3 separate regions of the Homo sapiens genome follow, and regions 2 and 3 are each linked to region 1. Evidence: promoter capture Hi-C in 16 types of primary human blood cells and fetal thymus (Javierre and others, 2016). All regions are on one chromosome and are shown on one strand. Each heading gives the region's core, a stretch centred on a gene start or on the middle of the fragment in contact. The rest is flanking DNA. Distances are from core to core; before and after follow the strand shown. Region 1 holds the start of TNS1-AS1 (TNS1 antisense RNA 1). Region 2 overlaps TNS1 (tensin 1). Region 3 overlaps DIRC3 (disrupted in renal carcinoma 3).

Region 1 (4,388 bases), core at 993-3,492:
CACCAGTGGGTCCCATTCCCTATAGAGGAAACTCCTATACAAAGCCCATCTGTCTGCCTGGTTGCTGCCCTGCCAGTCTACCCTCTCCCCCACTTAGTTGGCCTCCTTGGGCAGGGCAGAGCAGCACTGCGGCAGCCTGGTGCATTCTGAGCCCCCAGCACACGTGAGAGACTCCTCAGGTAGGCTATGCCCCCAAAAAGTCATCTTTGCCATTTGCCTGTTCCCATGCACAAGGCTACTGCATGACAAGGGGCCATCTGTCATATCTTTCTGGGCCTCTCTGGGCCACCCATCTCCCCCAATCAGACCCTTCACTGCCCGGAAGTTTATCCCCTTATCCTTCCTAAATATATCCTGCTGCTGTCAAGAGATGGAAAGCAAAAGGAAGAATGGCAGGCAAGGATGGAGAAATGCATGCCAGTAGGCAGTGAGAGACAAGGAGAAGGAAGCACAAAGGCCCAGGGACAGAGAGCAGGTGAAGAATTACACCGGGACACCTTGGGGAAGTCACTCAACGTGGGGCGCCTCAGTTTCCTCATCTGTAAAACAACAGAATCTTTTGGCCAATGTTTTATGCTCTAAAGGAATTAAAAGAACAAAGTCTGATAATGCATGTGAAATGCTGTCTAAGACCCAAAGCACTGTACAAATGTCCATTGCTATTAAAAGAAAAGGTTGCAGGAAGGGCAGTACGAAGGGGTAGACTGGGGAGGAGCAAGAAAACTGGAAAGTTCTGGAGTTTAAGGCAAAAAACTCTGCTCTGGATAAACAGAACAAGGAGGGAGGTGGAAGGAGAAGCAGAAACGTACTCTCCATCCAGGGGAGGAAAGGCTGAGAGAGGCCGCAGGAAAGGAGAAGACAAGGGAAGGGGCAGAAAACCCACTGCATGGAGGTACCTGCTGCAAGCCAGGCCCTCTGCATCTCTGCAAGGGGAGCATTCCAAGCTGGAGTCTACAGATGGAGACGCCCTCCAGCAAGGTGTGTGCTCGGCTTTAGTAAAGTTTCTTTGGAGGAAGATTCTTCCCAGACCTGCTTGATCCGTCAGCACCCCTTCCCCAAGGTAACACTTGTCCCTCTAAGCTCCCAGTAGCTGAGCATCAGTCATGACATTTTTGAGCACCCACCCTGTGCCAGGCACTGGGCTGGGCACTTCACATACATTACCTCATTGAATTCTCACAACAACTTTATGAGGTAGGCTTCTTATTCCCATATCCTTGAGAATGAAACAGAAACTCAGAGAGGTACATAACTTGCCCAAGGCCACCCAGCTAATAAGAAGCAAAACATGAGATGTACCAGATACAGGTCCTCAACTGCTCAATGAATGCTCCTTCTGGAAGCATCTTCTCCTTCTACTCCCTGAACTCCTTGAAAGGTCAAATATGAAGAGCAAACGTAGGGAGTGAAAGGGCAGGGAGGGTTACAAGCAACAATGGCAGAAGGTGCAGACATTGGCTGCAAGTGAAAGGCAAGGAACGCCATTTCCACCCCTAGGCAGAGCTGAGCCCATTGGACAGAACCATTTCCTTCCCAAACTCATAATCCATCTTGGTGCCAATCCCCCACCCCCTGTTACTCCAAGAAGCTGATATATGACTCCTGTGTCCAAACCTCAGTGGATACATCAGGGGCTGAGCCAGCCTGGCCAACCAGGGCCCAGCAATCCCTCCAGTCTTCTTGCCTCAGTTTCCCTTTCCCATCAAGACCAGCCAGAAAATACTCATGGGGAAATTGAGGACCAAAAGAAGACCTGGCCAATAAAGAGGAAGGGACAGTCTCTCAGGCGGTTCCAGACCAGCCAATCCTGACCTCCGACCTCATTCTCCATTTATCCCACCCACCCGCTTCTCCTGCCCTCGGGGTCCTGTGGCTGTGGACACTGAGGTTTTCTAGGTTGGCCAAATTGAGCCAACTGGGGTTGTGCGCGGCCCGGGGTAATTGAAATGGATCCCCTCCCCCTTTCCCTCTCCCCCTTGAGAACTAGCAGAAACACCTTCAAAGGCCGCTCTCTGGGAGCTCGGTCCCCATCAGCCACCCCCGGTAACCGCCCAGATTGCGCTCCGCGCCCCCCACCCAGATCCCCCGATTCCCCAGCCCGCCCCTGCCCCCGCCCCCGGGCCTTCGCCTTCACCTTGACCTGCGCCCGCTCCCAGGCCCAGGCGCTTTGCATAAACAAAGAGAGGAGGAGGGACGCCCCGGGCACCGCCCCCGCCCCGCCGGCGCCCCCGCTCCAATCTGGGACCCCGAGCCAGGCCTGTCCCAAGTCCTCCCGGGCCCGCCAGCCCGCGGCCCCTTACCTTGGCCTGGCATTTCCGATGACAGGAGAAGCTGCAGACTGCAAGAGGGCGAGACACAGAAAGAAAGTTTTAGCCGCGAGGTATGAAATGGAAACTCCGCGAAATCTCCTCCCACCCCAGCCCGCAATCCGCGCTCGGGAAGGAAGGAGGGAAGGAGGGACGGAGGGAAGGAGAGAGGGAGAGAGGGAGGGGACGGAGGGGAGCGGCTGCCGGGCCTGCGGGGCGGGAGTGCCCGGGACTGAGGACCCGCGGCCGGGGAGGCAGGGGGCTCCCAGAGCCAGAGCCCCTCCGGGTGCGGGAAGGTGGGGGGAGCAAAGGGGGGGGTCCCCCACTGGACCCCTGCCAGGGGCAGAGGTAGCCCGGACCCGGGCCCCACGCCAGCCCCACCAAGGAATAAGGGGGGCCTTCTCCCCTTACACACACACCAGGCAGGCAGACGACATCGCAAACCACAATCACACTTACTCTGCCCCAGAGACAGACACACAGACACAATTCAGAGTCCAGGAGCGGGCCCACGCATATACACATTACACCCACACCCACACACTCACCCAGAACCACTCCCACCCATCCACACAGCCATCCACGCACACACACACAGTCTCACACACACAGATTCATCCAGGAAGAGCCCTGACTCAGGGCACCAACACACACAATTTTGTGGGACACCATCAGTTGCAGCCTGACACAGATTTGTGGACACAGACACGTGAACAGATGCTCACATAAACTTCATGTGCATGACTTGAAACACACAGACACACACACACACACACACACACAGGACTTGCTCTTCCTCCCATTACCAGAAGCTGGAATCAAATTTCCTATAAGGTTCCCGAAGCCTGGAATGTCCCCAGCCCTGCCGCCCCACCCCCCAGGGCTCTGGGACTCCACCAAGGGATTTGGTGACCTCCCTGCAGATCTCATGGGTGGGCGAGGGGTCTCCCGAGTTGGGTTTTGCACTGCTTTGGGTCTTGTTGGCTGCCCAGGACCTGCTAAGGCTGGGGGGTTAGGAACTCTGGTTAGAGAACTGGGGAGGGGGAGATAGGGGAGTGCCCTGACTCCAAATCCTCAACAGCCACAGCCCAGGACCACAGCCATCCACCTCCTTCTCCTGGATCTATTGCACCCCACCCCCTTCCAGCTTTGAACCAACCTGATTCTCAGCAGACTGCAGAAAGGGAGGTTGAGGCACAGATGAATGCCCGGAGCAGCCCAGGGAGGCTCCGGGGTTCCCCACACTAAGGCTTCTTCTGATTTGTCTGAGGCAGAAGGGGCTGGGCATGGGGAAGGGGGAGAAGCTGGGAAGCACACTGGGTGGTGCCTGGAAAGGGACCTTGGCCACTGGCCCTAACATGGGATCTTCTTCTCTCAGAACCTAGTCCTGGCCCAGCCCAGGCCTGTGACTCACCGGTGCTGAGCAAGGTTTTCCTGACCCCACCAGCCACCCAGCCTAGCTCAGGGACATCTCCACCCTGGCCACAGCAGGACATACTCCCCACTCAGCCACACAAGCGTTACCCATCACTCTGGTCTTTCTGCTTCTCCCTCTCCCTCAGCACCACCACCAGCCCGGGTAGCAACTCCCTCACTTCGCAAAGGTGTTCCCTCTTGGACACCAGCAGCCTCCCTTGCCCCACCCCATCCAAATAGAGGAAACGTCCCCTTTGTTGGTCCAACAGTGTGGGCTCCTTCCAGGGGGACCTGCCTCTCTCTCTCTCCTACACACACACAGAGAGAGAGAGAGAGAGAGAGAGAGAGAGAGAGAGAGAGGAGCCTGGTACACAGGAGAGGCTTAATAAACGTTTGCTGAGTTGGACCTGTCTGAAGATATCCCCTGTGGTTTATGCGCACCCCAATTTAGTCATGTCCCCCCGACTCTCAGATCGTTCCTGAGCTGTAGACCGCCACCTCAACATCTCATGTTCAACCAAAAAGGCATCTCTAAGCATCCACCCCAGTCTAGACATGAGGGACACAATGGGGGCCGGGACTCCACCTCCCTCCAGCATGCTCCCTGCTCTGCCAGTTCCCAGAGTGCCTCAGGGCCTTGGCACTTGCTGTGTCAGCTGCCTGGTA
Region 2 (4,174 bases), core at 1,477-3,976, 170 kb before region 1:
GGGTTCATCTCTTTTGGCCGGCATTCAGCATGACCTTGGAGACGAAGTTGACGATGGCAGAGGCCGGCTGGTTGGGGTCAAGCTCAGCAAAGAGGTGGCAGGCGTTGTCCGTGGTGCTGCCCTGCTTCCGGGCCACGAAGCCGAAGAGCCTGCAGGCGGGAGAGGGCAACGGGCATGAGGGAAGGGCAAGTGGAACCCCAGGAGGTGGACAGCAGCCCAGGTGAGCAAGCTGGTCTCAGGCCAACCTCTCTTCCCCATCCCTCCAGCAGGCCTCAGCATCAGGGACTCAGAGAGGTGCAGAAGAGAATCCTCTGTGCACTCCCCTGACCACAAGCCAAGTCCTAGAGACAGTGTCCCACCTTGTTTAAGGGTGGGCAGAAATCCCCTTTGAAGGGGTGCGAGGGGAGCTGCAGAGGATTGACAAGGCTGGATAGTGAGGGGTGGGGAGGAGACCAAAATAAAATGGGAACATTCCTAGACAGGCCTCTCCCCGCCCATCCCAGCCCTACCCCTACTGACTGTTCTTACACACAACACATATGCCAATCAGGAAAGTGCTGTCTGCCTGCAAACGGCTCAGCCTCCTCAGACACCACAAGGTCAGGGAGACAAAGGTCAAGTAGCTCACACCCCTCCACACACACACACTTATTCTTCCTGGGCTCAAGAACCTTGGAAGCCAGAAAATAAAAGGGAAGGTGGACCCCACACCCGTTCCCCACCCCCACCCGCAGGACTGGAGTGACCCAGCATTCTCTTCGCAAAACAGAGTTAAAAATATGAGGGCAGAGAACAGAATGTGAGCTCAGGTCCCCTCCCAGCCAGCATGTTGCTAATTAGAGCGAGATGGGGAAATGAGGACAGCTGGAGATTCCTATGAAAACCCCTCTCCCTACCGCAGGACCACGGCAGCTGAAGTTAGCAAAGGGGGATTCTGCTGGTCCCTGTGTGCCTGTGTGTACAAACCACCACACACATGCACCACACACATACACACCATCACACACACCACCACACACACCACACACACCACACACACACCACACACACCACCACACACACCACACACACCACACACACCACACACACCACCACACACCACACACACCACCACACACACCACACACACAACACACACCACCACACACCACACACACCACACACATACACACCATCACACCCACACACATCACACACACACAACACACATATCACCACACACATACACACCATCACACACATCACCACATGCATACACCACACACACACCACTGCACACACCACACATACCACCACACATACACACCACACACCACCACACACACATACACCACACACACACAAACCATGCATACATACATATACAGACCACACACATACACAACATATACACACCACACACAACACGCAAACACAACATATACACACACCACACACACACACACACACACACACATAATCCAGCATTTCCTACAGCTCTGCTCCTCCAGTCTTGTTTCAGGGGCCAGGAGCAACAGGGCCAAAGGCCTGGGGTAATGCCCAGGTGGTGGGGGAGCTGGGGTCCACAGGGCATCCCCCAGCACCTCCCTTTCCCAGCTGGCTCAGACCATGAGCAGGGGTGGGGGTGATCCTGGCAGAGGGAGGAAGCATGCCAGCCCTGGCTGCGGGTGTCTACCAGGATGGAGACCCGGCAACTGCACCTGACTGGAGCACCGAGCCTGCCCTCCCCTGATATTTCTTTCAGCTGTGGCTTCCAGGCTCCCGCAATAGCCCAGTCCTGTCATCTGCCACAAGGAATAGATCCAGGCAAGAAGCCTCAGCCCGCAAGGGCAGGAGGAAGCGCTTGCAAGATCCCAAGATCTAACATCTCCTTGAATTTTGCACATGAGATCCCTGGCTGGCCTCACCTCGTCCCTGTCATGATTCCCTGTTAGCCCACTGCCCTGCTTGGCCTCTCCCTGTGGCCTCTGCCCCACCCATCAAAGCTTCTTCAGCAGGAGGCTCAACTCAAAACCAGCTCCTGAAGGAGGAAAAGAGGGATTTCCAGGCTTGGGGGCCCAGTTCCCTTCTGTCCCTGACCTTCTTCCCTCGCAGGGCCCTGTGGTGAGTGAGCACAAGCCCCTTCAAACAGGAAGTTCCAGCCTGCTGCCTTGGCCAGCAGAGACACGGGAAATGCAGGAACTCAAAGCACTGATGACCCTATGAAGCCTGGACAAGGCTGAACCCCACCATCCCACATGGCCTCTCCTAAGCTACCATCACTGACCATGTGATAGACTAGTCAGTCCATTCATTCGGACTGAGGCATTCTCACTAGCCTCCTCCTGCCTCTGCTCTTCCAGCCTCCATTCTCTCATTTCTTCACTCAACAAATATATACCACCTCCCCATGTGTCAGACATGGCCCTTCCCTTGGGGAGCTTGCAGGCTGGTGGCCATGAGGCCCCTCCCCTGAAATAGCCCCTCCTACTCCCATTCTCATTTTGACCTGTCCAAATTGAACCTGTCTTTGAAGACCCGTCCTTAAATATCTGCTCTTTCCACCTCTCTGAGGTGCTGATGTGTTCTCCTGCATGAGCTCCCCAGACGTAAGCTGAACTCTCTTGCTGCCTCTCCCTCCCTTGCAACTGTCATTTTTTTAACACTGAACGTTTTGTTTTTCTAAAGCAACCTTATATGAAGTCTGCATATATAAAGGTGAAAGCAGTATTTTACAGCTATAAACAGCAATCCAAAAGCACGACATTTACCTATTATAAAGTCAATCAGTGAGGATAATAGGGCTGTTGGAATAATCCTGACAAAGTGAAAAGTAGATGACAGATCATGGTGATAGTCTCATGTCAGCTTCAGACCCCAGGTTATGCCTATATTTTGTTTGGTTTTGTGATTGTGAAAAAACCCTAGTTACTGCTGATAGACAACTGCAAGGAGCAGCAGAGCTTTCCCTCTCTTCTGTACATCAGGTACAATCCAAGGATGCTAGGATCCTTGGAATACAGTTTGAAAATCACAGAAGCATCTTAGTGCTATTTAGACATCTGTCTTATCTGCTGTGCCAATGGGCCTCCTGAGGGCAGGGTCAGAGACCCAGGCAGGATCTGAGTCCCTTGGAGGCCCCTAGGACATGTCTGCTGGATGGAGGAATCCACCCGAAGGTCCCAGGGCCATCCCCAGAATTCAGACTTTCTGGGCTCCCACATTCTGATAAGGCTGATTTGCTCGGCCACAAGACTCACAGGAAAGCCCACCAAAAAAGCAAGAGCAGAAATAAAGGCAGCTAGAATTGGGGCAGAAAAGATCATGTAAGCAATCTCTGACCCATTTCCATTGCTTCTAATAAGACTGTTTTCTGTCCACTTCCTGCCATCCCTGCTGCTTCTAACCCTGGGAGAGTGAAGGCAGCTGGACCAGACGCTGGGCCTCTGGCCTCGAGGCAGGACAAGGCAAAAGGCCTGGAAGCCTGGTCAAGCTTCACTCGGAAGCTGAGTGACCTTGGCACAAAGGTTTTTGCTGCTCTTTCCCTACCCCCAGCCCTGGTTTCTAAATGTGCCCCGTGCTTCCCTCACTGTGAAGTACAAAGGCCAGCCTGCTGGGCAGGGGTAAGAAGTCACACTTACTTAGCAGGGGCACCACCCTCTGTTTTCATCCACCTGTGGAGAGAAAGTGGGCTCAGGGTAAATCATCGTACTTTCTCCCTAGAGCCCAGCCCCACCCATGCCCAGACCCTCTGCAGGAAGGTCTGGGGAGAGGAGCTGCCCCCCATTCCCCCCTCATTCCCCCATTCCCCCATTCCCCAGGGACAGGAGCTGCCCAAGATCACACAGATGCATTCAAGGTCGAGAGAACACTGCAGCCTGCCTCCTGAGGGGCTCTCCCCATCATGGAGAGGAGAAGCAGATTCAAGGTCAGGGCATGGCAGAGGGGGTAGCAGTGGGCACTGAGTCCCTGGGAGGGTCTCCATATCTATAGTGGGAAAGACTCAAAAGATGCCCAACACGATTACTCACACATGGGCAGACCTTCCAGCTGAATGGAGAATGTATGCACATGCACACACACACACACACACATGCACATGCATGCACCCACACAGACGTCAGTGTTAGAAAGCTGTGTGGGAGAGAAGCTGTGTACAAGAGACTTACTTTCTTTCCTGTGGATCCAGGTCACA
Region 3 (4,376 bases), core at 166-2,665, 210 kb before region 1:
ATTAGGTATATAAATATCTGATAAAATAGAATTCAAGATAGAATAGTACCAAAAAATGAAGAGGGAAATTTTATAGTGACAAAAGGATCAATTTATCAATGAGACTTAATAACCGTAAATGAGTATAGATCTATCAACAGAGCCTCAAAATACATGAAACGAAAATTGACAGGATTAAAAGGAGAAATAGAAAATTCCATAATCACAATAGGTTTTTAACACCTCTCTCTCAGCAAGCGATAGAGCAACTAGACAGAAACATCAGTAAAGATCTATAAAAATAATGGTATTATTCAGGAATCTGAATAATAATATTCGCCATGTTGACCTAACTAATAGTTACAAAACACTACCTAACAACTGCAGAATACACATTTATTTCAAGTGTGCACTATGTGTTTGCTGAGATTTACCATAGTCTGGGCACAAAACAAGTCTCAATAAATTTAAAAGAATTAAAATCATACAGAATATTTCTCTAACCACAACCAAATTAAATTAGAAACAAATAAAAGTAAGATAGGCAGAAAAACCCAAAGCTTGTGATAAGATTCTTAACACACTCAGCAGAATGTTTAAAATTAAAAAGACTGACAATACCAAATGTTAGTGAGGATATGGAGCAACTGGAACCTTCATGCATTGTTGGTGGAAATGAGAAATGATACAACCACTTCCAAGAAGTGACAGGATTTTTTTTTTAAGTTAAACAGCATACTCTGGTTTTTCTTCAGATTGCATAAATCTTTTACCTTTCACTAAAATTTTAACATACACCTACCATATGACCCCACCAGCCCATTTCTAGGTATTTACCCATGAGAAATCCACGCATTTGTCCACAATAAGCTCTGTATGTAAACGTTCACAGAAGTTTTATTCTTAATAGCCAAAACACTGGAACCAACTTAAATATCCATCATTTAACTGAATGAATAAGCAAAAAATATAGTATATTTATACAAAGGAATACTACTCAGCAAGAAAACAGAACAAACTACTGATAAACACAAAAGCATGGAAGAATCTCAAAATCAGGCAGAGGAAAAGAAGGCAGAAATGTATATATGGATGGATGGATGGATGGATAGATAGACATACACACAGACATATATCTAGTATTACTCCATTTATATAAAATCTTTAAAAAATGAAGCATGTAAAGGAATAGAATCAGTGGTTACCTGGGACTCGGAGTAGAGGGAAGGGTGTACTGTAATGGGACATAAGGAATCTTTTGGGGCGGATGGAAAAGTTTTGCCTCTTGATTATGGTCGTAGTTTCGTGGCTATATACAACTGACAAAATAGTGTGCCCTTTAAGTGAATTCAACTTATTGGGTGTTATTTACACCTCAAAGATGATATTTTTAAATTTCAGCACAAAAAATTAAAAATGGGATCAAGTGGGATTATTCTAGGAATACCAGGATAACTCCTTAAAATCCATTAATACAGTTTATTATGTTAAGAAACAATAAAACGTGATTATCTCCATACATTCTGGGGGAGCATTTGATCAGATTCTGCACTCATTCTTGATATTTAAATTTAAAAGCAAATAAAATAGAAATGTGTGGATATTTCCTTGACATGATAAAATGTTTTGAATAGAGAACTACAGAAGCTATTGATGTTAAAGTCAGAAATAAGACAATGATTACTATATTCACTTCCTATTGCTGCCACCACAAATTTAATAGCCTAAAACAACACAAATGTATTCTCTTACAGTTCTGGAAGTCAGAGTCTAAATGGTCACACTGAGTTAAAATCAAGGTGCCAGCAGGGCTGCATTTCTTTCTGGAGGCTCTAGGAGAAAATTGATACACTTACCTTTTTCAGCTTACTAAAGGCTATCTGCATTCCTTGGTTCATGGCTCTCTTCCATCTTCAAAGCCAGCATTTGCATCATTCTGACCTTGGCTTCTAACATTGCATCTCCTTCTCTGACTCTTACTCTCCTACCTGCCTCTTACAAGGACTCTTGTGATAATCTTCCCATCTCAGGGTCCTTAACTCAATCACATCTGCAAAGTTCCTTTGCCATGTAAGTTAACACATTCACAGGTTCCAAAGATTAGGACATGGACGTCTTTGGGGTGGCCATTATTCTGCCTACCACACTTACCAAGTGCAAATGCGGCCAATAATCAGGTAGACAAGATGGCCTATTCAATGGATCTCCATTGACCTCTTTACCCAGACACCCCAGTATTTGCTCAATGGGCTCACTAACAACGTGGCCACAATAGCAGGGATGGAGGTTACACAAGGGCTTGGATTTCCCTTTAAGCTTGATCCAGCTTCCACTATTGCTGAGTACTCAGCTGCAGAGACCAATACTGAGTGCCCAGTACAGTATGTAGCCACCCTATTAGACACCTTCCATCATGGAGGAGGAAGCAATTTACCCTTGCTGGAATAGACATTTCCTGGAATATGCATTTGTCTTCTCTGCCTGTTGTAGTTTGACTAAAAGCAGCATCTATGGACTTTCCGAATACTTGAATTACCCTCCCAATCCCTTGCAACATTGTTTCTGTCCAGGAAAAATAATTTTAAAGCAATGGATGATAGGCTTATTTCTACAGCATACACTTGTCTTATCATGGAACCTCATCATCCCAAAGCAGGTGGAGTAATAGAACAGTGAACAAACCTGTTGAAGGCTCAATCACAGCTCCAATTTGGACTCACTCAACACCTTATGAGAGTTGGGTGTCATTTGCAGCATGCAGTATATACTCAGAACTGGAGACTAATAATATGGTTCTTTTGCTCTCATAGCCGAAAATGTGTGTATTCAGTAACTAAGGGAGAGAAATAGGAGAGGTGCCCCTCACTATTAAACCTAATGGTCCCTTATAAACTTTTTTTCCCATTCACTGGGCTCAGCTGACATCAAGACATAAGTGCCCAAAAGAGAAATTCTTCCCCTAGGTAACTAAAAATGGTTCCACTAAACAAAGAACTAGGAACCTGTTTCTTTTTATGCCACTAATCAACAGATAAAGGCAAAGGGGGACTAAGGTTGCTATATCTTGGGTGGCAGCAGGGGAAAATGTGTCAAGAACCCAAAGGATCCTTTGGAGCATCTTCAGTTATTAGCAAAATGAATAGAACATACAGTGACCCAATAGAGACAGTATTCAAAACCCTCAGGAATAAAGTTTTTGGTCACTTCACCAGATAAATACCAAAATGATTACTACAATCTCGTGACCAGTTAGAGAAATGAGGAATGTAACAGCCACCTATACTCTTAACCTGCGTTATTTTTAAAAAACAAAACAAAATTACTTTTCTGTTTGTTTTTTTTTTTTTCCATTTCCCCACCATTTTCATAGAATGTGTTTTGGTGGATAACTTTATAATGTAATCCATGAGCTACAAAATATCAGTTGGAATTATATAGAAACTAGAGAGGGAAGGCTCATCACCAAGTGATAGTTGTAATTACTGATGGGACTTCAGGTGTCTCATCTGTTTTGGGGAAGATAGTGAGTTTGTTTTTTCTCTATAAGAGAGTATTGTATTATATTAAAAGGGAAAATGTTTTTGTTGTTATCAATGTTGTTTGTCAGTTTAAGCATGGATAAAAGAATATGGTTAGTCCAAGGAATGGAGTTTAATCATTATGGTGGGTTGACACTCAGTCTCCATCCCATCTTCTCTCTAGTATGCTTTTCTGAATGGAAGAACCTAGAAAACTAAGAACTACATTTTCCAGATTCCATTGTAGCTAGAGTTTTAGATGTAATTTATATGCTGCCAACTAGATTCATTCAAGGTTTTTGAAGTCTAACGTGAGGCAAAGGTGGAGGTGACGTTTCTACTGCTTGTGCTGTTTCCTGCTGGCATCCTGTGGAATTGCTGGCTTTTCTGTGGCAACATTAACAGAGGTCCAAGTATCTAGCCACAAGCTTCAGGACTGCTGAGGCAGGGATTGGAGCACCCATCCTGCTGGTCATTTCAGAGCAGCTCTGCATGATTCCAGAGACAGTAGCCATGATGACTTCCTCGTCAAAATAACTCCCTATTCACAGATTGGCATTGTGATTTTTGAGATAGCAGCTCCCTGACTGCGGAAGAGTCACAGGGACTATTTCTGAAATGGTTTCTAAAATCTCAACCTAGAGTCTCTTTTTTCAGTCCTCCTGATAATGTTGAAATCTACTTAATAAATTCCTCTGTCTTGGTCAGTTGGGTGTGCTATAATGAAATACCATAGACTGGGTAGCTTATAACAACAGAAATTTATTTCTCACAGCTCTGGAGGCTAGGAAGTTCAAGATCAAGGCACCAGTAGATTCAGTGTATGGGGAGGGCCCACTTCTTGGTTCACAGACAGTGCCTTCTTCCTGTGTCCTCACA

What was found. Contacts are between HindIII fragments. The CHiCAGO score rates a contact against its expected background, and 5 or more counts as called.
Region 2: a contact is called between a fragment that was not itself captured here and the fragment with the promoter of TNS1-AS1 in region 1, in 2 of 17 cell types (naive B cells and total B cells). The highest score is 5.8, in naive B cells.
Region 3: a contact is called between a fragment that was not itself captured here and the fragment with the promoter of TNS1-AS1 in region 1, in 3 of 17 cell types (M2 macrophages, total B cells and naive B cells). The highest score is 7.2, in M2 macrophages.

The regions. Positions count from the first base shown.
Region 1 is chr2:217,976,465-217,980,852 of GRCh38, forward strand. TNS1-AS1 (TNS1 antisense RNA 1) reads left to right here and starts at 2,243. Exons shown (of 4, transcript NR_135524.1): 1 at 2,243-2,380. TNS1 (tensin 1) reads right to left here. Exons shown (of 33, transcript NM_001387777.1): 3 at 2,301-2,338. RefSeq lists an enhancer at 2,239-3,127. The HindIII fragment of the contact is 9,016 bases long and covers 1-4,388 here.
Region 2 is chr2:217,804,455-217,808,628 of GRCh38, forward strand. It overlaps TNS1 (tensin 1), which reads right to left. Exons shown (of 33, transcript NM_001387777.1): 31 at 4,149-4,174; 32 at 3,621-3,653; 33 at 1-149. The coding sequence ends at 5. Among named protein-coding and RNA genes, the nearest start is that of DIRC3, 16 kb to the left of the region's middle. The HindIII fragment of the contact is 1,487 bases long and covers 1,984-3,470 here.
Region 3 is chr2:217,768,444-217,772,819 of GRCh38, forward strand. The region is part of intron 2 of DIRC3 (disrupted in renal carcinoma 3); the gene reads right to left. Among named protein-coding and RNA genes, the nearest start is that of DIRC3, 20 kb to the right of the region's middle. The HindIII fragment of the contact is 1,756 bases long and covers 538-2,293 here.